Regions from separate parts of the Homo sapiens genome. Here all the other regions are linked to region 3. Evidence: promoter capture Hi-C in 16 types of primary human blood cells and fetal thymus (Javierre and others, 2016). All regions are on one chromosome and are shown on one strand. Each heading gives the region's core, a stretch centred on a gene start or on the middle of the fragment in contact. The rest is flanking DNA. Distances are from core to core; before and after follow the strand shown. Region 1 holds the start of SMYD3 (SET and MYND domain containing 3). Region 2 overlaps SMYD3 (SET and MYND domain containing 3). Region 3 holds the start of KIF26B (kinesin family member 26B). Region 4 holds the start of TFB2M (transcription factor B2, mitochondrial). Region 5 overlaps SMYD3 (SET and MYND domain containing 3). Region 6 overlaps SCCPDH (saccharopine dehydrogenase (putative)). Region 7 holds the start of SCCPDH (saccharopine dehydrogenase (putative)).

Region 1 (3,132 bases), core at 511-3,010, 1.4 Mb after region 3:
TATACACCCCAGATCCCAGCCCCAGCTACTTTTGCAGTGCAATCCTAACTTGGTTCAGCCGATGCCCAGTCAAGTCTTGGCAGACTTTAAAGCAACACTGAGAACTCCCCCAAAACTCTTTCATTAAATTCCTTTTTTGCTTAAATCCCCAGTTACTGCAAACAGGAAAAATGAATGAGACTAATGAAATAGTATGGTAAATCAACAAGCATCCCACCCACAAAGGGTTTGTGTAGCTTATTTTGGAAATGCACAATTCCGTGTGTCACAAGACTCAACTTCAGCTCTAATGATTCAATTGCCAATTTGTCACCATTTATTCATTCCAAAACTTTTCTGTTCCAAGAACTATCTTGAAAGGAACGAATTGTTTTCAACCACACAGTTTACAAAAACTTCAAGATGCTGCTCTCTCCCGAACAGATGTTTTCGCTGTTATCATTACTTCAGAAAGCAACAGACAAAATTATTATTTGGTAGCTCTAAAATGCAAAGTCATATTCCTGAATTATGAATCAAATGAGAACAAAGTAAGAACAATGGTCAAATTACAGATACGAGTTTTGCACTTACCGTCCCACCTCCACCCACCTAAATCTCAGACTGGCAGGTCTGAAAAGCGGCCATGCACAAAATCATCGCACTCATCTCAAAATAGAACTCTTCTTCCTCGCACACAGAAGCTCAATAATATTTGTTGACTGAATGCAGTTCCTATTATTCATGTATGTTACACATTTCCATAAATTGCTTTCACATAGCACTTTACACCGGCACAGCGCGTCCAGGCTTCCAAAACACCTTCACGTGAATCCCTGCATCTAGAATGGTGGTTAAGAGTTAGACATGCCTGCACAGCCATTAAATGGCACAGCACACGGGGGACCCGTGTCTGATGCTCCCACAGCACATTAATTGCCCCTCTATTTCAGCCCTTCTGGTACACTGTAATTCTCTCTCTCACTTGATCAGCTCTTTGAGGAGGTCCCGTTCCTCTTCGTATCCCCAGGCCACACACAACCCAGACCACAGAGGTGCACCGTAGACATCAAGATTCTTCCACCTGCTGCAAGCCTGATGCTTTACCGGCGGGGCCTCTGCAGGGGAGCCTGATTTATACTCATCCCAGCTCCCACCCAGCCCCACGCCCGCCACGTGTGATTTCCACAGCCGCACCAAGGAAGACTGTCCAGCACACAGACTTTTCGTCTCCCAGCAAAATTATCCCCGGCACAACGCTTCCCCCTCAAGTCTGCCCAATGGCTTTCCCATTTCCACCGCAGCCCAGGTTGGGGGGCAGTGGCTGAGCCTGGGCCCCCTCCCAGCCCCGCTGCGGCAACCTAGGGGGGTGTCCGGGCGGGGCCTGTCAGCAGCGACCCGCCCCCGGGCACACGCGCGTCAGGGGCAGCACCGCCAAGCTGCCTGTGCAGCCCCATCCAGCAGGAGTCCCGCGGCTGCCGGCCGCCCGACGCCCCCCCCTCCCCAGCACCCCACACAGCTCGCGACTCAGGTAGGCGAGGGCGCTCCTTACGCACCCGAGAAGGCAGCGGTCGCAGACGACGCCACGACTCCCCTTGCACACCGTGTACGCCAAGGGATCCGAGCGGAAGAGTAGCTCTCCGGGGCGCAGCGGGGTCACGGCGCGCAGCCCGTTTCCCCTCTTGGCGGTTGCGAACTTTTCCACCTTCAGCGGCTCCATCCTCCCGCAGCTCCGGCACCTCAGACGGCTACCCGCGTCCAGCAGCGGGCGTCTCACGGGCTGCCGGGACCCGCGCGCCTGCGCCCTGCGCGCACACGTACGCCCGAGGGGCGGGGCGGGCGCGGTGGGGCAAGAGCATGCGCAGATGGAGTCTGGAGGGACGGCTGGAGTGGAGTGTGTGGGACCTGAAGGTGGTCGTAAGGCTCCGCGTGCGGCTCGTGCCCATGGCGACTGCGCAGAAGACAGGCGGGGTTTTTTTTCTCCCTCTAACATTGTATTACGATCATTTTAACGCATACGGAACAGTTGAAAACAGTGCAGTGAACACCTATATACCTCCGCCTAAATCAGACAACCTAGCACTTTGCCATTTCTGCTCGTCACTCTCTCCCCACCTGTAGCTATGTATACACGTATTGTCGTTAAACTATTTCAAAGTTGCAGGCATCATGACATCACAACTAGTACTTTGCACTGTAACTTTTTTTTGTTTTAGGACGGAGTCTTGCTCTGTCGCCCAGGCTGGAGTGCAGTGGCGAGATCTCGGCTCACTGCAACCTCTGACCTCCGGGTTCAAGCGATTCTCCTGCCTCAGCCTCCATAGTAGCTGGGACTACAGGCATGTGCAATCCTCCCGCCTGGGCCTCCTGACTAGATGGGACTATAGGCTCACGCCACCATGCCTGGCTAATGCTTTTTACTTTCCTCCAGAGACAGTCTACCTATGTCGCCCAGGCTAGTCGCAAACTCCTGGCCTCAAGTGAACCTGAACCTCCTGCCTCGACCTCTCGAATTGCTGGAATTACAGGTGTGAGCCACCACACCCAGCTTAATTTTCTTTTTTGTTTTTGGGGTTTGTTTTGTTTTGTTTTGTTTTTTGAGACGGAGTCTCATTCTCGCCCAGGCTGGAATGCAGTGGTACGATATTGGCTCACTGCAACCTCTGCCTCCCGGGTTCAAGCGATTCTCCTGCCTCAGCCTCTTGAGTAGCTGGGACTACAGGCGCCTGCCACCACGCCCGGCTAATTTTTGTATTTTTAGTAGAGACGAGGTTTCACCGTGTTAGCCAGGATGGTCTCGATCTAACCTTGTGATCCGCCCGCCTCGGCCTCTCAAAGTGCTGGGATTACAGGCGTGAGCCACCGCGCCCAGCCCACCCGGCCTAAATTTCTTAGTTTGGACAAACGTGCCATGGTAATGCAAAATGTCATTATTAAGGGCAGCTGGATGGAAGGTGTAGGAGTACACTATAGTGCCTTTCAATTTTTCTGTGTATCTAAAGTCATTTCAAAAGTAAACATTTATTTTAAAACATGAAGGTGGTTATGCTTCCATGAGTGTAAAGTACAAAAGGCAGGCTCGTGGTGCTGTCAGAAGTCAGAACACTGGTTTCAGGGCTGGGGGTGTTGGGAGGGGCTGGGCATGGTTGGCTT
Region 2 (3,041 bases), core at 189-2,688, 1.3 Mb after region 3:
TATCTCATTTGTTCTTTTAACTAATCTTATAAGGTTGTTTTTATTATTGTTGTTAACCCCATTTTACCAATGGGAAAACTAAGGTTTAGCTAGTCAGTTTGCAGGTTCATGAAATTAGTAAACGGCATCATCAGAACCTGGACCAGAATCTATCTGACAACAAAGCTCCTTAACAGATATGACATAAGTATTAACAGGTTCAAATTCCTCTAGAATGGGTAATAATAGAAGATTCCATACCCAAGTATAGGTGATATTCATCTAATAACTACCTGAACTTCTGACCTTTTAGGCCAAAAGTGAAAAATTGAAACCCCACTCCAATTCTTGAATTGATATTTAATCTCTAAAATATTTATTTCAGGGATAAGTGTGAAGATTATAATACCTCACATTTATATAATGCTCTGGATTAAGTCATTTGCTCTTCACTAAAATCCTATGACACAGATAGGAATTATAACCCCATTTCATTCATTCTGTAGATGAAGAAAATGAAAATCAAAGAGATTAAGTGATTTGCCCAAGGTCACAAATCTAGCAAATGGAAGCAGCGCTCAAACCTAAGACTTACTTCTCCAAGTACAGTCCTATTTTTCAGTATACCATGTAGACAAACAGATGAATAATACTAATTAAAAAGTGATCTTCAAAAAAAGTAATCTCACCACCCCCAAAAAAACTAATTCACTCATCATACTCATTCTCATTGATGATCAAAGCAATGGTATAGTTCTCCAATATACAACATTTAAAGAAAGGAGATAAGACTTAGAGGAGCATAACACTGTTCAAAAAGGTAGGCCCATGGACATATAAGGAAAGCAAAAGATCCACTGGTCTCCAAGACAACAAAATAAATAAAATTACCCACCTATACTAATAGAAAATATGGTCTAGAACTATACTGAAGAATTTTGTTTAAATAAGAACAGTCAGAATGGGTAGACATTGACGGTACAAGACACAATACCTGCATCCAAGAGCTTCCAGAGGAGGTAAAAAAAGTATTTAATAATTACTGGTTCAAATAGTTGAAATATGGTTGGGCATGGTAGCTCACGCCTGTAATCCCAGCACTCTGGGAGGCCAAGCGAGTGGATCACTTGAAGCCAGGAGTTTGAAACCAGCCTGGCCAATATAGCCAAACCCCATCTCTACTTAAAATACAAAAATTAGCCAGGCATGGTGGTGCGCACCTGTAATCCCAGCTACTCGTCCCAGCTACTCAGGAGGCTAAGGCAAGAGAATCACTTGAACCCAGGAGGTGGAGGTTGCAGTGAGCCGAGATTGCACCACTGCACTCCAGCCTGGGCAACAGAGCAAGACTCTGTCTGGAAAAAAAAAAAGTTAAAATACAAGGTGGTAAATGTGATAAAAGATACAATGTTCTGAGTACCTGAAAGAGTGAGCACCACCCTAAACAACCAGGAGACAATCAAAGAATGTGTTCATCTATAGAAAGAAAATGTAAAAAAACAGAAGTCTCAAAATACAAGAAAAATAGTTACAAGCAATTTCACCCTACTGCAGAAAACCATGCCCAGTGTCTAACTTAGGCTCCACTCAGATCTTTTTTTTTTTTTTTTGAGATGGAGTTTCACTCTTGTTGCCCAGGCTGGAGTGCAATGACGCGACCTCAGCTCACCACAACCTCTGCCTCCTGGGTTCAAGTGATTCTCCTGCTTCAGCCTCCCCAGTAGCTGGGATTACAGGCATGCACCACCAAGCCCGGCTAATTTTGTATTTTTAGTAGAGACAGGGTTCCTCCATGTTTGTCAGGCTGGTCTCGAACTCCCAACCTCAGGTGATCTGCATGCCTCAGCCTCCCAAAGTGCTGGGATTACAGGTGTGAGCCACCACGCCTGGCCCTCCCTTTTAGCATTTCCTATGCATGGTGGCCACATGAATCATGTGACCTCGTAATAAACTGATCTTCCACAAGTGCCTCATTCATTAAATCCTGCTCATTAAAAGTTGGGCTCCAAACTACAATTAAATCCATGTATTTGATCTGTGACCGAAAAATTATTATATTAAAGGTAGTTATTACACAGGTAATTTCATTAAAAAGAAGTCTGGGCATTTTAAAATAGACTTCTAGAATCATCTGCCAGCTTGACTTGTACATCTTGACTGAAACTAACAGAAGAAAGGTATTACTATAGATCTCTGATACAGAAAGGTCAAGTTCAAGAAATTCAGTCAAAAAGCAAAAACAGAAGAAAGTGAAGGGTGCTCAGAAAAAGTCCAAGCTAAGCACAGAAAAAAATAACAGAGATTTAGGCTGGGCGTGGTGGCTCATGCCTGTAATCCCACTTTGGGAGGCCGAGGCGGGCAGATCACCTGAGGTCTGGAGTTCAAGACCAGCCCTGACAACCTGGTGAAACCCTGTCTCCACTAAAAATACAAAATTAGCCAGGTGTGGTGGTGCATGCCTATAGTCTCAGGTACTGGGGAATCTGAGGCAGGAGAATAGCTTGAACCCAGGAGGCAGAGGTTGCAGTGTGCCGAGATCGCACCACTGCACTCCAGCTTGGGTGACACAGTGAGACTCCGTCTCAAAAGAAAAAATAAAAATAGAGATTTTAAGCAGGCTGTTATTTACAACTGCTGCAAATATTCATATAAAACTACTATGGATTTAGCCCTAGTGTCCTCAAACTTTAGTGCCAATAAGACCAATAAAGTAGACAGAAGACAGATTGCAAAAGGAATGCGTCTCCATCCTGTAGGTAAACAGGTATCAAAATTTTATGAGTACCAGCGTCACCCAGGGAGCTTGGCAAGAATGTAGATTCTGTGCCTTAAAACACTAGATATTCTCCGGAGAGGCACTGAGAGCCAGATTTTTAACAAGTCCTCTCTCTCTCTCTCCACCTCCCACTCCCCAGTCATTCTGAGGGAGGTGAATGGTAGGTCACTTCTGAAGAAGCAATGCAGGCCGGGCGCGGTGGTTCACACCTGTAATCCCAGCACTGTGGGAGGCCGAGGCGGGCGGATCACGAGGTCAAGAGATTGAGATCATCCTGGCTAACATG
Region 3 (3,308 bases), core at 620-3,119:
AGCTTCTTAAAAACTCTTGCAGAGCCTCCGGTTATAAACTTTAATCAACAGAGGGCGCTCGGAGCCCACCAAACACGCTTTGGGCCCCCAGCTACTTAGAAATGCAAATCAGAGCAGCTCTGGGCTCCCCCGTCTCCGAGGTGGATCGCGCAGCTCCCCAACACTCCCCCTCGACACCCCACCTTCCCCACCCGCGGCCTCGCCGGCTCGTTTCACCACACGCTGCTTTTTGGCTGATAAGCGGCTCGTGGCCAATGGCGATGATGTGTTTCGCGGCACCTACGCGAAATACAGATGCGGGTGGGAGCTGGCGCGTGCTGCCTGGAGGTGTACCTGCCCCCTAAGGTCCCCTATTGATAGGATCGCTTTTAAATTGGAAGTGGGAACGTAACGGAAACGTCCACTCTGTTCTTGCCATCTTCCTTTTGACCTTTTTACCTCGCTTTGGTGGCTGTGAAATATTCCCGCGCAGGAGCTGGAGCGGGGAGGAGTGGGGCAGAGCACGGGAGGCACAGAAGAAATTGTCCCCGAGGAAGGCAGAGTGGGGGCGTGGCCCCAGGCTTCCAGAACCCCGAACCTTTGTCTTCTTGCCCCCTCCTGCGTCGTCCACAGCTCAGAAGGAAGTCAGCGACCAGAAAGCCCTGAACGTCCTTCGCGCCCTCGCCCACCCCCGGGCTGGGTCTCCCCGCGGGCGCGGAGATGCCGTTACACCCCACGTGATCCCTGCGCCCGGCCAGTCCTTCCAGAGGCGTCTCGCGGGGTGTTAATTAAAGGTCACAACAAAACAGACCTGCTGGCTCACCAGAAGAAATGTCCTCCCGTGAAATGAAAAATGACACCCCAGAGCAGCCACGTGTGGAGCCTGGCATACGCCGGCTTCCTGCGCTCCTGGGCGCTGCGCCGGGGGACTGGGGCGGGGGGCGATCGGAGAGGGAGCGATGACGGGGTGCTCCGGAGACCCCGCGGGGCCCAGGCGCAGGAAGAAACGGGCGGCGGGGGGCGAGGGGCCCGATCCCACGCAAGGAGAGGCCAAGGCCAGCTCGCGCCACACCCCCTCTCCAGGCCAGAGTCGTCCGCGTGCAGCGCGGCGAAGCCCTCAGTTTCCCCTGCCCGGCAGCGGCCCGCTGGGTCACCAGGCTCACCTGTCCCAGCCCCGGGCGGCTTAGTCCATCACAGACCGGGGCTCGGGCGGGCGGGGGACCAAGGGCCCTAGTCCTGCGGCTGCGGTCGGGGAGGGTGGCCCCCCGGCCGGCCCGGGGTCGGTAGGGCAATTCCAGAAAAGGTTTGCCCGGCAGCTCTCCGAGAACAAAGGGCGGGGGGAGGACCCGGCATGTTTGTGGACTTGTTTGTGACTCAATCCCTTTTGCACGGCGTTTCACAGACAGACCTGCAAGCCTTGTCAGGAAGAGAAAGAACTTGGGGGCGGGGGAGGCTGGGGCACCGCATTTCCGTCCAGCCACGCTCGCTCGCGCGGCCCCCGGGCTCCAGGCTCGCGCAGCGGCGTTTCATTAGAGCCCCGGGCCCGGGCCGCGCGCCAGGAACTTCCCCGCACGCGGCGAGATCGACGATCCCCCGCCCCCAGCCCCAGCCCGGCTCCAGGCCTCGCAATGTCAGGCACGAGCGCCGCCACATAAAATGGATCCCGGCCGGCGCGGCGAGGGCGGCAGGTTCCCGAGGCTCCTCCGCGCTGCGCCCGGGCGCACACGCGCGCTGTGACCGCCGACCGCTCCCGGGCCACGCGGAGCCGCCCCTCTCCCGGCCCTCGCGCAACTGTCAGGCGAAACGGGCCGGCGGATATTGGCTCGGCGACACGCCGAGGCTCCTCCCCGAGTCTGGATCTTTATATTTTGGGAGAATTTCTTTGAACTCAGTTACCAAGCTCGGTGAAGGAGACAAGTTCCCACAGCTGACTCGGCTCGGCTCTCCCACCTTCCCGGCAGCGGCCGCGAGCCCTGATTGTATCCCTCGCTTTCCTCGTGGGGGAGCACGGACTGACTTGGCTGAAGAAAATGCCAGTTCTGTGGATGTGGCCGTGACAAGAGGACGTGCGGCTGGAAGAGGCAGAAGGGGACGAGGAAAAGCATGCTTTGAAGAGAAGAATAAACCAGCGACCCCAACCCTTTCTGCAAATTGGTGCTATTACTTGTGGGATCCATTTGCTTTCATTCCCTCCCACCCCACCGCTGAAGAAACCTTGCCCTGAGGGCTGAGAGCCAGCCCCCTGCAGCCGGGGGACGCTTCTGGGTTGGAGGACCTTCTGGATGTAGCGTCGGTGGAACCTTTAGATACTCTCCTCTGGAAAAGCCACCATGAATTCGGTAGCTGGGAATAAAGAGAGGCTTGCGGTCTCCACCAGGGGCAAGAAATACGGGGTAAGTTGTGACGGTACGACGCGGAGACGCGTTACCAGACCCATCTCGGCGGAGGTCCCCCTTTCCCCGGGATCGTGCGGCCCCGGCCCCGAGCTCTCCCCCGCTGCAGAGGCGCCCCCGGGGCTGGCGGGGTTGTGAGTGCGCGGAGGCGGGTCGGCCGCGGGGACGCCCGCACGCTCGCCTCGCTCTCGGAATTTTTTCAGCCCTCTCGTTCCTTCCTTTCCACGCACCCGTAACTTTTGCCGCATTCCTGCACTTCTAGGCAGAGTGAAGCCGAAGGGGAGGGTTTCCCATGAATGCTGGGCAGTACCTCGGATCGTTTAGCTGGAGCCGTGAGAGCCTCTCGTTTACCTGCAGGATCCGGAGAGTTGGACCCCGTATGAATAAAAATCCTGAAATCACAGCCCTCCCCCTACCCCCCCCATAGGGTCTTCCAGGATTTTGTTCCCGGGATCTTGCTGGGATAGGTGCCGGCTTCAAAAGCGTGGGGCGCTGAACCTATGGATCCCCCCCGCCTTGCAGAAGCCGTGGAAACGGCCCCGAGCGAGTCCCCTTCCTGACCCCAGGAGGAGGCCACCGGGGACCAGCGCAGGGGTCACCTGGGCGGTGGGGACTCACTTAAGGACAATTAACGAGACAGACGGAGGGCAATTTGGCCGCAGGGCTTGGAGAGGTCCCCAACCGACTCCCGTGGGCGGTTCGAGCGGGTACTTGGTGGCGCACGTATGACCCAGCTCCTGGGCGCTGCAGCCCGCCGCCTTGCAGCCCCTGACACCGGCGTGTCTTCCCCGCAGGTGAATGAAGTCTGCTCGCCCACCAAGCCCGCAGCGCCCTTCTCCCCGGAAAGCTGGTACCGGAAAGCATACGAGGAGTCGCGCGCCGGCAGCCGGCCCACTCCTGAGGGCGCGGGCTCAGCGCTCGGCTCCTCGGGGACCC
Region 4 (2,923 bases), core at 52-2,551, 1.4 Mb after region 3:
TGAGCCACCGCACCAGGTCAAAACTTGCACTCTTCATCACCATGATTCACTACCTCTTAGAAGAAAAAAGTCACAGCAAAATAGATTGCCTCTAGCCTATCACTTCCTCACGGACTACACGGATGCTTTAACCATCAAAGAGATTGTCAAGCCTAAACAGAACTGACTCCCTGTGATATGAAATGGTGCTTTAAAAAACTATCATTCAAAAAGCCTATAAATCTTGTGTTCTTAGCATCCTGCTATGGTCTATAGGGAATGCACGGAAGAATAAGATAACATCATTTTTTCAGCTGGCAGAGGCTTGCAACTCTTTTGGGGAGATAAGATCTAAGAGCATGTTTTATCAAAATATTGTGTAAAGTGCAAGCTGCTACAGAAATACTTTGTGGTGTCATTAACGATACAGACTCTACGCTTATGTAGTGGGCAATCTCTCCAACTAAGGAGCTTCAAACAAAGACCCGTATCTGGACGGGCGCAGTGGCTCACGCCTCTAATCCCAGCATTTTGGGAGACCTAGGGGGGAGGATCACGAGGTCAAGAGATCGAGACCATCCTGGCCAACACGGCGAAATCCCGTCTCTAGTAAAAATAAGAAAATTAGCTGGGCGTGGTGGCGCGCGCCTGTAGTTCTTGCTACTCGGGAGGCTGAGGCAGGAGAATCGCCTGAACCCGGTACGCGGAGGTTGCAGGGAGCCGAGATCGCCCCACTGCACTCCAGCCTGGCAACACAGCGAGACTCCGTCTCAAAGCAAAAGAACAACAAAAAAGACCCCCCAGTATCTAAAATAGCACCCCGAGGAGGGTCAATACGTTTGAATAAATGATGAACATCCAAGAAAATGCAATTCAGCTGGACTCACCTGGATTGCACTCCAGCAGTAGGTGTGGAGGTCTACTTGGTTTTCCCAAATAGATTTGCGCCAGGGTCTCAGCCAATCTCCGATCGGTTACGTAACGCTTAAAGTCTAAGCTGGCCTTAGACGCCTTCCTTGGCGGATTCCTGAAATCCGGTTCGGGCCACAGCTGCGGAGAGGAGTCAGAGAGCCCACAGTGGTTCCTCGCCGGCAAATGCTTTCGCGTCGCCGCTTCAGACCCTAAAATGCAAAAGCGACCAGCGCCCGCCAAGGCGGAGAGCCTCAGCCGCCGAGGAAGCCCGACCACTGGGATCCACATGTCCTTGTCTCTCAGGCCCGCTCCAAGAATCACCTAGTGCAGCTACTACAGTGAACCCCACGCAGGGTATCCCACGTGGAACATTTTCTGGCGTCCGGGCCAGGTCAAGCGGAAGTAAACACTAGAGCCTGCGCATGCGAACAGCGGAGCCTTCCTGCTTTTCTCCCTCACTTCCGCTTCCGCCTCGGCTCAGCCGCCCGAGGATTGTGAGTGGACCGTTGAGGAGAGCGACCGACCATCCGGCTGGTGTCCGGACTCGTACTCTATGGTTGTCCGCGCTCTGCGCTTCCTCTCTAGCCGCCAGTGCTCTATGCTCCGCGGTCGCGGGCCGCCAGCCTCCAGCCGGCCAGCCGCGAGGGGTGCGCAGAGGGAGGCGGGGCGGAAAGGCGAGAGGTGTCTCCTCCACCGGAGCCAGGGGAGACCCGAGCAAGCTCCGTGACAGCACGTCGGCCGCCATGTCGCCGAGTGGGGCTGGAAACAGACCCGGCGCCCAGCGGTAGCCCTCCTTGCGCCTCCGATTCCCAGGTGAGGAGAGGAGGAGCGGGATGCAGGGGACCCGCCGGCTCGCGGCCGGGATGGAAAGCCTTTCGGAAGCCTCTCGCTCCTCCCCCTGCGCTGTCCTCCTCCAGCCGCGCAGCCTCTGCCCTCCGGGTGAGGTGTAGCCCGGTCCCCTTACCTCCTCCGCCTCTCAGGTCGCCTGTTTTCCTCTCCTTTCTCAGCTACTGTGGGTCTCCTATTGCTGCGCGTCGCGCCAATTTCTCCCTCCCTAGGGGACTAGCGCCAGAAGTCGTTCCTCACCCGGCTCCTGGAGGAGCCTGCGGCTTCCACGGTCTCCGTTCCTTTCTGTTGTGTGGCCCACAGCCCGCTCTCCCCACCCTCGTGGATGGTTTTCATTTCCCCCCCACACCTGGTCCCCCCCATCACTACCACTTTGGTTGTCAAGAACCGCGTGGTGTCTCCCTTCCATTCCTCTCTCTGGGCCAATATTTTCCTTAATTTTTTCAGTTTGTGTGTTTAAAAGACTTAAAGTTAAGATTAAAAATGAAGATGTAAAAGCTTACAATTCCTTTCTAAGCTTAAAAAGATTAAGACTTTAGGATGCTTACTGTATTCCTTATGTAAACTTAGTCAAACACATCGTACTGTGGAATGCGATTTAAAAGACCCAATTTTGAAGACTAAAAATAGGATGCTGTAATGGAAATTTTGGCAGTCTTTTTTTTTTTACCTATTGGGCAATGTTAGAAGACACGGTTCTTTGAGAGTGTTTTCCGTGTTTCAGGATCAAACTTAGAGCTTTTACCCATTATCCTTACCACCAAGGCAAGAAACGGCAGCCAATCAACTCCGTGTCTTAGAATACGTACAATCCTTTCTGCTTACTCTACTGAGAGTGTAATTGAGTTTGGCATTTAAATGCACGAGGAAAAGGTTCCTAAGGAATGTATCACCCAGCAAATAGTCTGAAGATTATACTCATCTGATGAAGCTCAAGCGGATAAAGAATTGACAACTAAATATGACCTTTTGTGTATTATAAATTTGTTAGGACATCATAGAAAATATCTCATCAACTGTTGTGCAAACTGTGGGGACTCACTCATTGGTCTTAATTTGCTTAAATTCTTTTTTCGTACAGTTTTCTCACTGACAATTTTCTAGAGGTGACTTTGCATCCTCTGAACCTCTCTCCATTACTGAGCTGCCTCCCCCTCTCCCCTTAAAAAACATTTTCATAGATTCA
Region 5 (3,217 bases), core at 297-2,796, 1.3 Mb after region 3:
AAGTCCTCAAAAGCAATTGCAACAAAAACAAAAATTGACAAGTGGAACCTAATTAAAATAAAGAGCATCTGCACAGCAAAAGAAATTATCAACAGAGTAAACAGACAACATATAGAATGGGAGAAAATATTCACAAACTGTGAATTTGTCTATTTGTCATCCGACAAAGGTCTAATATCCAAAATCTATAATGAACTTAATTCAACAAGCAAAAAACAAATGACCCCAATACAAAATGGGCAAATATATGAATAGACACTTCTCAAATGAAGACACACAAGCGGCAGACAAACATGAAAAAATGTTCCACATCACTAATCATCAGAGAAATGCAAATCAAAACCACAATGAGATACCATCTCACACCTGTCAGAATGGCTTTTATTAAAAAGTCAAAACAGAACAGATGCTGGCGAGGCTGCAGAGAAAAGGGAACGTTTATCCACTGTTAGTGGGAATGTAACCTAGTTCGGCCACTGTGGAAAGCAGTTTGGAGATTTCTCAAAGAACTTGAAACAGAGCTACCATTTGACCCAGCAATGCCATTAGTAGGTATCTATCCAAAAGAAAAGAAATTGTTCTACCAAAGAGACACATGTACGTATATGTTTGTTGCAGCACTACTCACAATAGCAAAAAACACGGAACTAACCTAGGTGTACATCAATAGTGGTTTAGATAAAGAAAACATGGGGTGTGTGTGGAATAGTATTCTGCTCCCCATGGAATACTTAGCCATAAAAAAAGAACAAAATCATGTCCTTTGCGGCAACATGGAAACAGCTGGAGGCTATTCTCCTAAGCAAATTAATGCAAAACAATAAAACCAAATAACATGTAGTTCACACTTATAAGTGGGAGCTAATCACTGGTACTGCTGGACATAAAGACGGCAACAATAGACACTGGTGACTATTAAAGGAGAAGAGGAAAGGAGGAGGCAAGGATTGAAAAATTATTGGGTACTATGCTCACTACCTGGGTGACAGGATCATCCCTATTTCAAATCTCAGCATTACACAATATACCCATGCCACAAACTTGCACATGTATTCCTTGAATCTAAAATAAAAGTTGAAATTATTTTTTTTTAAAGAATGTGTTTGTGATTATCTGAAATTATTGCAAAATGTATATACATTTTTTTCCAAAGAGGTTTCACGGATTTCATAAGTTAACTGTTTTATTCTATGAAGAGACCATGGAATAAACAAAACAAAGCAGCAAAATGTTAAGTGAAAACTTTATATTCAGACTCTGAAGCTTCTTTGGTAAGGGTAGTGTGTTACGCAAAGAGGTATTCTGAGTAACTGTAATACTAGATAAGGAACAGTCAGGACAAAGCCACTGCTTTTCTCTAAGTTAGGAAAACATCAGGAACTCCTGAGAATTCCAAAATAGCTTGAATGAGGAAGGGGGAATAAGGGAAGAGTAATAGCGTTGAGACTCTAAATGATAGAAGAATTCCAAGGAGAAGATACAAGAATTCCAAGAATTCCAAGGAGAAGATACAAGAATTCCAAGAATTCCAAGGAGAAGATACAAGAATTCCAAGAATTCCAAGGAGAAGATACAAGGAAACTGGACAAAACACGCTAAATGAAGCTACATTAATTAGAATGTCCCACGTGGCATTTGAATTTCCCTCTATTAGAGTTTTTGCTACATTTCCCTGAAGGTTTATCGAGGGCAGACACTGACCTTAATAGTCTTTGTATCACGGGTTCCAGCACAGTACTTCTCACATAGTTGTTACTCAACATTTCCTGGGTCAGTAATGAAAACATGGGTTGGAAATAGGTGGCAAGTTTTTTTAAAATTATTAAACCAGAAGCTTTCAGTGGGTAGTAGTTACATATTCAAATTTCCTTCACCCACTTGAGAGAGAAAATATAAAGGCTATGAAATGTGTCGGGAGAAAAACTATGAACCATTCTTTCTTATTTGAAAAAAAAAAAAACTATACAACAATAGAAGAAAGTTGAAAAAGAACCTAATCTTCCTTCATGGAAACATGGACTTAAACAAAAAAAGAACCTAATTTTCCTAAAGTGAACTAAAAGTTACAAATTTCAATCTCCAATAATTGAAGGCAAGAACTTTGTTCTTATAGACTATCTCAGGCAGCAGTTTAAAAGGGGGGCCTACAATGTTTTCCCCTTTGATTTTAAAATAATTTTACACTTACATAAAAGTCACAATAATAGCACAGAGGATTCCCATCTACCCCTTCACTCAGCTTCCCTTAACATTGACATCACCACAGTAATACATAGAAAGTATCTAGGTTCCTGCCTCCCTAGTCTCCTCCGATCTGTCATAATTCCTAAGTCTTTCCTTGTCTTTGACACTTGATACTTTTGAAGAGTAATGATCAGTTATTTAGGCAGGTGTCTTGCCTAAATCATGTTCTTTTTCTGTTCCACAAGGTAAAGATGTATTTAGATGTCCTGCTTCGTTAGTCTCCTCCAATCTGTGACCCAACATGCTCCCGCCCCCAAGGGCAGGTTTACTTCTATTACTTCTATTTTCCCCAGGTGTAAAGGGTTTTCACCAGAGCCCCAAAGGTAATGGTCATTGTTTTGTCCTTTCTCTGCTTTCATTCAGTAGAAGGGAAAAGGACGATAGGGAATAAGGGTCCTGCCAGAGTTTCTTTCTTTTTTTTTTTTTTTTTTGAGACAGAGTTTTCACTCTCGCCCAGACTGAAGTGCAGTGACACAATCTCGGCTCACTGCAACCTCCACCTCCCGGGTTCAAGCGATTCTCCTGCCTCAGCTTCCCAAGTAGCTGGGATTACAGGCACCCGCCACCACACCCAGCTAATTTTTTGTATTTATTAGAGACAAGGTTTCACCACGTTGGTCAGGCTGGTCTCGAACTCCTGACCTCGGGTGATCCACTCACCTCAGCCTCCCACAGTGCTGGGATTTCAGAGTTTCTTACTGTATCTGCAGCAGCTGCTCTTCTCCTAGAGACAAAGAATGCTTTCTCAGGAATCTCACCTGTCTTTTTGGGAGCACCTGGTAGAGTTTTTGGAGAAAAAGCCTACAGGTGGGTATGAACTCCCCTCATCCACAGTTCCCAGGGTCTTCACACTTTCTTGCCAGCCCACATGCAGCATCCATCAATTTGGTTAACTATTCTAGCTGAATGCTTACCAGTGTCCAGCTGTGGGTGCCCCAGGTAAGCAAGTGCTGATGTCTTTCCCTACATCTGT
Region 6 (2,965 bases), core at 225-2,724, 1.6 Mb after region 3:
CTGCTGCTGAGAAGTAAACCAGGCATGACCTAAAACAGGATTAATAAAAGTAAAATTTGTATATAGTAAAATCTAATTAAATTTTTTCAAATACCTAGGTCCCCCTTGAAAATATTTAGCATTTATGAATGTTAGCTATTATATTTTTAAAAACTTCTTTTTCATCCAATTTAAGTTCTGTTTACACTTTCATAATAATTGATTATCTAAATTTATTCCATTCGGGTCTTTCTTTAATCCCCCTAAGTCTGAGGACTGTCCTTGTAAACAGCAGCGGTTCTTCGGGGTGATGGCGCACAGTGCACCCACCAAACACATGCATAGAATGGAAACAGTATCTCCAGGAACAGAGCCAGTCTAGATAGGGTTGGCTGTGGTGCAAGTTTCTCCTGACTAATAGCTACTTGCTCATTTGGCTGATTTTAGGAAGGAATCAAAGGTAGCCGTGATTACCATGAAGACTTGGGTTTTCAGGGGTTCTGTAGCAATTTGATAGTGAGGCCTGTGAAATAGGAGACTGGAGAGGAGCTGAGTGCACTGTTTTCTCTTGTTATTGTTTTATAGGGGCGGGGTCTTCACACCTGGAGCAGCTTTTTCCAAAACAAAGTTGATTGACAGACTCAACAAACACGGTATTGAGTTTAGTGTTATTAGCAGCTCTGAAGTCTAAACACTGGAAGAATTAACTGAAGTCATAACGTGCGTGAATTAACAGCTTCTCTATTTGATATTTGAAATTCTTCTGTAAGCCTGTCTGAGTGTATGTGGAAACGATTGTCAAATCTAAAATATCTATATATTAAAAAGTAGGAAATTGTCCTAGCTTACCCTAAATTTCAAATCTGAGTTGATTTTGTGATTTTATTGCTTATAACAGAGAACTCATATTTGACATATTTTTTTCATTGATGTGTTCCTGGTAGATTTTCACGAATGAGCTGGCAGGTCTAATGGGGGAGGCGGCGTCCCAGTCTGTGTTGCAGCAGCATTCTCATCGGGGGTGCGCACACCATCGTTACTGTCGGGCAGTAACTGCCGCTTGCCTTGCCGCAGTAGGAGGGAAATCTCACCTTCCTTCCACATACTGTCTTGAGCCTTTGCTAAATTAAACTGCACTTTTTGCTATTTTTGCCTAGTTTTTCGCCAATCTACACTGATTTTGGACTGTTACCTAAGTTGAAAAATAAAAGGTTGTCAATCGAATGGTGGTTTAATGTTTGGACCTGCCGATGTATTTGTATAGTGGTAGAAACATGCTGCTTAAGTGGCCTAACCTGTTTCTTGCCAATAAGTAGGCTTATCATTTTATCTTTACGTAATTCTATATCTGTGACTAGGTTTTTAAGGATACAGCTTATAAGTTGCTATCAATTTTCACTACCTAAGCAGAATTTTTCTCTAATTTACTTTTTGTATTTTAACTAGGTTTTACATGGAAGCCCTAAAATAAGGCAAAAGACTTTTTCTTTTGTAATAAGCATATAATAAACACGTATATACATAGCAATCATGTTGTTCATTACCTAAACAAGACAGCCACTCCTTTATGGAATTTCTACCAAAAAGTGAGGAACATAAAATATTTAGGAATATTATTTGTGTTGGGAGACCCTTCTGCTCTGCCTGTAAGAAGAAGAGGGGGCGGTATCTAACTCAAAGAGGCCTGTAAGGAGAAGTGGGGGAGGGTATCTAACTCAAAGAGGCCTGTAAGAAGAAGCGGGGGGTATCTAACTCGAAGAGGGTGTTCTTGGTGGTAGTATTCCCCACCCTAACTCTGCTTCCTCTGTCCTGGCCTGGTCATCACAAGATACAGATCCTCAGCTGTGCCCTAACTTGTGGGACCTTAGAAAAGGTTTTATCGGCTGTGAAATTAGAAAGCAGTACAGGAGCAATAGAGCCCACGACTAGCTGCACATCTGAATCACGAAACAGTAACAGGTTCCTCCGTGCCTGCAGCAACTTGCGTTCAGGAGGGCGGGAGGTCGAAGCCTCTGTGTTTTTGATATGCATTTGGGAACCGCTGGGTGAAGCTGCATATCCTGTCCCTGTTTCTAGCTTTGCAATGTATGCTCGAGCATTGACTCTGATTCTGAAGGTAGCAGTGTGACCCCATCCTCTGGCTTGAGGTACATGTGTGTCTCATCCTGATTTTCCTTTTAATCCCCCAAGGTTCTGCCTGCTCCCATTTGCTGAAAGTATATGACTCACCTCAGGTGAGTAAACTGCTAATTGTCCAAAATGTTGAGGCTCAGTTCAAGAGACAGAAGCCATTCCTGCTCCCAGTGGCCAGGCCCAGAGGACTGGAGTCTGCCTAGCCTCTACTGTTACGGGGTCTCACTGACAGAGTCTTCCCAGGATTCCGTGATGCCTTTGCTGGCCCTGTCCTGGCTGTCACCACGAGGTGCTCCACGCTTGGGTTCCAGGGTTACAGCAGTTTTTTTAGTTCACTTGTGTATGTGGTCAGGACCTGAGCTGCAAGCAAAACCCATGCCTCCCTTACGAATCCTTGGACCCTGCTCTTAAGCTGAAATCACTAGCCCAGATTCCTTTGTCTTTCTAGAGGTTCCTTTTTGGAGCCCTTGACAGCCTCTCCTGCCAGTGCAGCTTCGGCGTCATCCTATTTGACCTTCCTTAACTTCATATTTTAGGGAGCAAGGATTGAGGTTGTCGCCCCTTATTTTCTCCTTCCTGATTTTTTCTGCATGTCAGCCAGGACTCCCAGGGACAGTCCTGCACCGTCAGGCAGCAGGCCATCACAGTTAGGAATGCAGGCTCTGGCATCAGCCTCTGTGCTTACAGTGGCCTGGGCATGTTACTCAACTTCATCGAATTATTGTGAGAATTAAATGAGCTAACATGTTTAGCACTTGGATTAGTGCCTGGCACATGGTGTAAGCACTTACTAAGTTTCAACGTCATCACTACTGTTGTTATTAGAAGTCTGTCTTTGGGCTGGGCACGGTGG
Region 7 (3,213 bases), core at 425-2,924, 1.6 Mb after region 3:
AAGATTATTTTTTAGTGACTGTTTACTCCACTAGAATGTAAACTTCTTGAGGGCAGGGGCTTTATTTGTTGCCATATCCCCAGTACTTTATTCCTAGTGCCCAGTATATAGTTAAGTGTTTAATAAATACTTGAATGCTTACTACTTTACACCCACCAGATGGACAAGCATGAAGTCTGAGAATACCAAGTGCTGACAAGCACGTAAAGCAAGAGGATTCTTGTATCCCGCTGAGAGCGAAAATTAGTGCATGTGCTTTAAAGAGCAGTGAGATAACTCAAATATGGATATTCTAGCACCAACCATTTTCATTCCTGACACATATTCAATACACTTTCGCACAGGTGCTTTAGGAGAAAGGTACAAGAATTTTATTGTAGCATTCTTTGTATTATATTGCACAAAAGCACTATACAACATTGTACAAAAGCATTGTAGAATTTGGTGTATTTCTCTCTCTCTCCCTCTCTCCACACACGTATCACAGACATTTTTTTTTATTCTGAATCATTTGGGAATAAGTTCACGACATCATGACCAAATAAGAAAGCTGCAGGATTGACATTTACAAAATATTCAAAATATGCAAAACGGTACTATAATATTTATAAATACATACATATATAACAAGCAGAAAGATAGGAATAGGAATAATAAACACTAAATTCAGGCAAGTGGCCGTCTTGGGGACGCAAAAGGAAATGTGTTCAGGAATGAATACCTGGAAGCCTCGCTATCTGGAATATTTTTCTTAAGCTGTGTTGAGGGTACATATTTGTTATTGGCTGTACCTTTTTTGCAAGACATATATTTCAAAATTTTTAAAAGCATTCATTTATTCCTATTTTAATGAGAGTTTTTAAAAATCAGGAATGGGCTGGGTGCAGTGGCTCATGCGTGTAATCCCGACCCTTTGGGAGGCCGAGGTGGGTGGATCACCTGAGGTCAGGAGTTCGAGACCAGCCTGGCCAACAAGGTGAAAACCCATCTCTACTAAAAACACAAAAATTAGCAGGGCGTGGGGGCGCTCCCCTGTAATCCCAGCTACTCGGGAGGCTGAGGCAGAATCGCTTGAACCCAGGAGGCGAAGGTTGCAGTAAATCGAGATCGCGCCACTGCGCTGCAGCCTGGGCGACAGAGTGAGACTCCATCTCAAAAACAGAAAAGAGAAAAGAAAGGGAAAAAAGGGAAGAAAGAAAGGAAGAAAGCAAGCAAGCTCAAGGGTTCTCGGGGTGGGCCATCCCCGAGGCCATCCGCAGATTTTCTCGCACTCTTTGCTCCACCCCCACGTGCAACAAGGACAACCGGCTGCCGCCTCCAGCTTCCAGCAGGGCTAGAAGATGCGCTGCCCGGGGCGGCCAGAGCCCTGCAGAACAAACCGCCGCACGGAATTAGGGGCCGCCGTCCGCGCCTGCCAGGCTTGGAAGCGGACTCGCCCCCAGGGCCACCGCCCTAGGAAACCTCCCGTCGGAAGCCTCCCAAGCAAGCCGCTCACCCGCGGCTCCCGCGCGAGGCGGCGTGGGCGTGGGCGCGGCCCTGGCGCGGCGGCGCGCGCGGGGTGAAGGGAGCCCGGCGCGCTGGCTGCGGCGACGGCGGCCGTTGCTGCGCCGGGTACTGGGGTCGCTGCCTGAGGCGCAGGCGCCGTGGACTCCACCCGCCCCGGGGCCTGGGCTCGCTGTGGACTCGTCATGGCGACCGAGCAGAGGCCTTTCCACCTGGTGGTGTTCGGCGCGTCTGGCTTCACCGGCCAGTTCGTGACCGAGGAGGTGGCCCGGGAGCAGGTGGACCCGGAGCGGAGCTCCCGCCTGCCCTGGGCCGTGGCGGGCCGCTCCCGGGAGAAGCTGCAGCGGGTGCTGGAGAAGGCGGCCCTGAAGCTGGGTACAGCGGCGGGGCGGGACGGGGCTGCGCGGGCGGCTGGGCCGGGGACCCCGCATCGCCCCAAACGAGCGTTTCTCCCGCAGGGATGCGCCCTACGTGTCCCCGAGCCCTGCGTGAGGACAAGAAGAGGAGAGGGAGAGATGTTTCAAATACTGCCATAGCTTTGTCCCACCTCCTTAACTATATGTGTGTGTGCGCGTGCGTGTATAATATACACACACATTTTTTTTTCTTTCCTTCTCCTCTTTCCCGCTTTTTGCATTTCTGCCTCAGTTTGGGGAGCTCCCCTGGCGAAATGGTCAAGAACTTGAGTTGTCCCTCTCTCTGCTTCATCCTGCCCCGCAGCGGGGGCACCTGTTGAATCTGCGGGTTTCTAGATGTTTGGTCGGAGAGGAGAGGAGGGCTTTGGTCTCTTGGAGATCGGAGTCTCCCTTTGCCTCGTGTTTTGAGGACGGGAGAGCAAGCTTACGAGTTGTACTGACAGTGTCTTTGTGGCTATTCTGTTTTAGTTTCTTGTTTTGTGTGTAAGAATACTCCAGCAGTCTTCCTCTTCAGAGAATAAAAAGTGTGTATTTCTGGTTTAGACGCTTACGTATTCTCTAAGCATTCAGGTAGCATGTATTTATTGATAATCTAAGCATTCAGGTAGCATATATTTATTGATAATCTAAGCATTCAGGTAGCATATATTTATTGATTCTCTAAGCATTGAAGGAGCATATATTTATTGAGTGACGTTGTCCATGCTAAGACCTGTCCCGAGTCTGGGGTGCAGGATGGGACAGAGAGGAGACAGACACACGGATCCTGCTGCCTTCATGGCTGGGGAGACATCTGACTTACGACTCCGTAGCCTTTAAATTTGGCTATTAACTCCCGTAGATTTCCCTTATACAGACACCCATTAGAGTTCTGGAAATACTACATTCTTTCTGTTTAATCTACTTTCATACAATGCCCTGCTCGGAGTGCTTTTGTTCGTGGTTATGTACAGAAGACACCACGTAGGCTGGACTCTCCTACAGCTTTTGGTGCTGACACTACCAACACGTAATTCTGACCAAAGAGCTTTTTGGTCGTTATTTTTCCAACAGAAGTAATTTTACTATGAAAATATATGCTTCCATTTCTTTTTTCGGCTCAGCAAGATCGTACCGGTACAGCCTAGTCACTTATCATATATAATGCCCAAATCAAGTTTCATTGTGGGGGGATATACCTTCACCTATTGAAACCTGCATCACTTAGTTGAGCCAGTTAATTCCAATTATTTTCTTATGAGCCTGTGTGTGTTTATATAGCGTGTGCTTTTCACCTCAGAGTTCTAATTTTTTG

The links. The method cuts DNA at HindIII sites, captures the fragments that hold promoters and counts their contacts. A CHiCAGO score of 5 or more calls a contact.
Region 1: the fragment with the promoter of SMYD3 here is called in contact with the fragment with the promoter of KIF26B in region 3 in 16 of 17 cell types (total B cells, fetal thymus, M1 macrophages and 13 more); the score reaches 34.3 in total B cells.
Region 2: a fragment that was not itself captured here is called in contact with the fragment with the promoter of KIF26B in region 3 in 11 of 17 cell types (endothelial precursors, M2 macrophages, M0 macrophages and 8 more); the score reaches 12.2 in endothelial precursors.
Region 4: a contact is called between the fragment with the promoter of TFB2M here and the fragment with the promoter of KIF26B in region 3, in 3 of 17 cell types (fetal thymus, total B cells and naive CD8 T cells). The highest score is 16.1, in fetal thymus.
Region 5: a contact is called between a fragment that was not itself captured here and the fragment with the promoter of KIF26B in region 3, in 4 of 17 cell types (M2 macrophages, megakaryocytes, M1 macrophages and 1 more). The highest score is 9.3, in M2 macrophages.
Region 6: a fragment that was not itself captured here is called in contact with the fragment with the promoter of KIF26B in region 3 in 1 of 17 cell types (total B cells); the score reaches 5.8 in total B cells.
Region 7: the fragment with the promoter of SCCPDH here is called in contact with the fragment with the promoter of KIF26B in region 3 in 5 of 17 cell types (total B cells, fetal thymus, activated CD4 T cells and 2 more); the score reaches 18.0 in total B cells.

What each region holds. Positions count from the first base shown.
Region 1 is chr1:246,505,519-246,508,650 of GRCh38, forward strand. SMYD3 (SET and MYND domain containing 3) reads right to left here and starts at 1,761. Exons shown (of 12, transcript NM_001167740.2): 1 at 1,536-1,761. The coding sequence starts at 1,699. RefSeq lists enhancers at 712-1,212, 1,213-1,713 and silencers at 1,399-1,448, 1,719-1,898, 2,388-2,620. The HindIII fragment of the contact is 10,729 bases long and covers 1-3,132 here.
Region 2 is chr1:246,486,123-246,489,163 of GRCh38, forward strand. The region is part of intron 1 of SMYD3 (SET and MYND domain containing 3); the gene reads right to left. Among named protein-coding and RNA genes, the nearest start is that of SMYD3, 20 kb to the right of the region's middle. The HindIII fragment of the contact is 4,168 bases long and covers 1-3,041 here.
Region 3 is chr1:245,153,116-245,156,423 of GRCh38, forward strand. It overlaps KIF26B (kinesin family member 26B), which reads left to right and starts at 1,870. Exons shown (of 15, transcript NM_018012.4): 1 at 1,870-2,372; 2 at 3,167-3,308. The coding sequence starts at 2,310. RefSeq lists enhancers at 6-681, 682-1,357 and silencers at 1,212-1,411, 3,279-3,308. The HindIII fragment of the contact is 4,692 bases long and covers 1-3,308 here.
Region 4 is chr1:246,564,960-246,567,882 of GRCh38, forward strand. It overlaps TFB2M (transcription factor B2, mitochondrial), which reads right to left and starts at 1,302. Exons shown (of 8, transcript NM_022366.3): 1 at 867-1,302. The coding sequence starts at 1,179. It overlaps CNST (consortin, connexin sorting protein), which reads left to right and starts at 1,497. Exons shown (of 11, transcript NM_152609.3): 1 at 1,497-1,704. RefSeq lists enhancers at 992-1,271, 1,502-1,561, 1,602-2,101. The HindIII fragment of the contact is 6,532 bases long and covers 1-2,233 here.
Region 5 is chr1:246,434,244-246,437,460 of GRCh38, forward strand. The region is part of intron 1 of SMYD3 (SET and MYND domain containing 3); the gene reads right to left. Among named protein-coding and RNA genes, the nearest start is that of SMYD3, 71 kb to the right of the region's middle. The HindIII fragment of the contact is 571 bases long and covers 1,262-1,832 here.
Region 6 is chr1:246,766,631-246,769,595 of GRCh38, forward strand. SCCPDH (saccharopine dehydrogenase (putative)) reads left to right here. Exons shown (of 12, transcript NM_016002.3): 12 at 565-1,507. The coding sequence ends at 670. Among named protein-coding and RNA genes, the nearest start is that of LINC01341, 22 kb to the right of the region's middle. RefSeq lists an enhancer at 1,691-2,349 and a silencer at 1,837-2,131. The HindIII fragment of the contact is 7,322 bases long and covers 1-2,965 here.
Region 7 is chr1:246,722,735-246,725,947 of GRCh38, forward strand. It overlaps SCCPDH (saccharopine dehydrogenase (putative)), which reads left to right and starts at 1,675. Exons shown (of 12, transcript NM_016002.3): 1 at 1,675-1,878. The coding sequence starts at 1,689. RefSeq lists an enhancer at 1,109-1,268 and silencers at 1,479-1,608, 1,649-1,718, 1,819-2,028. The HindIII fragment of the contact is 2,865 bases long and covers 1-2,340 here.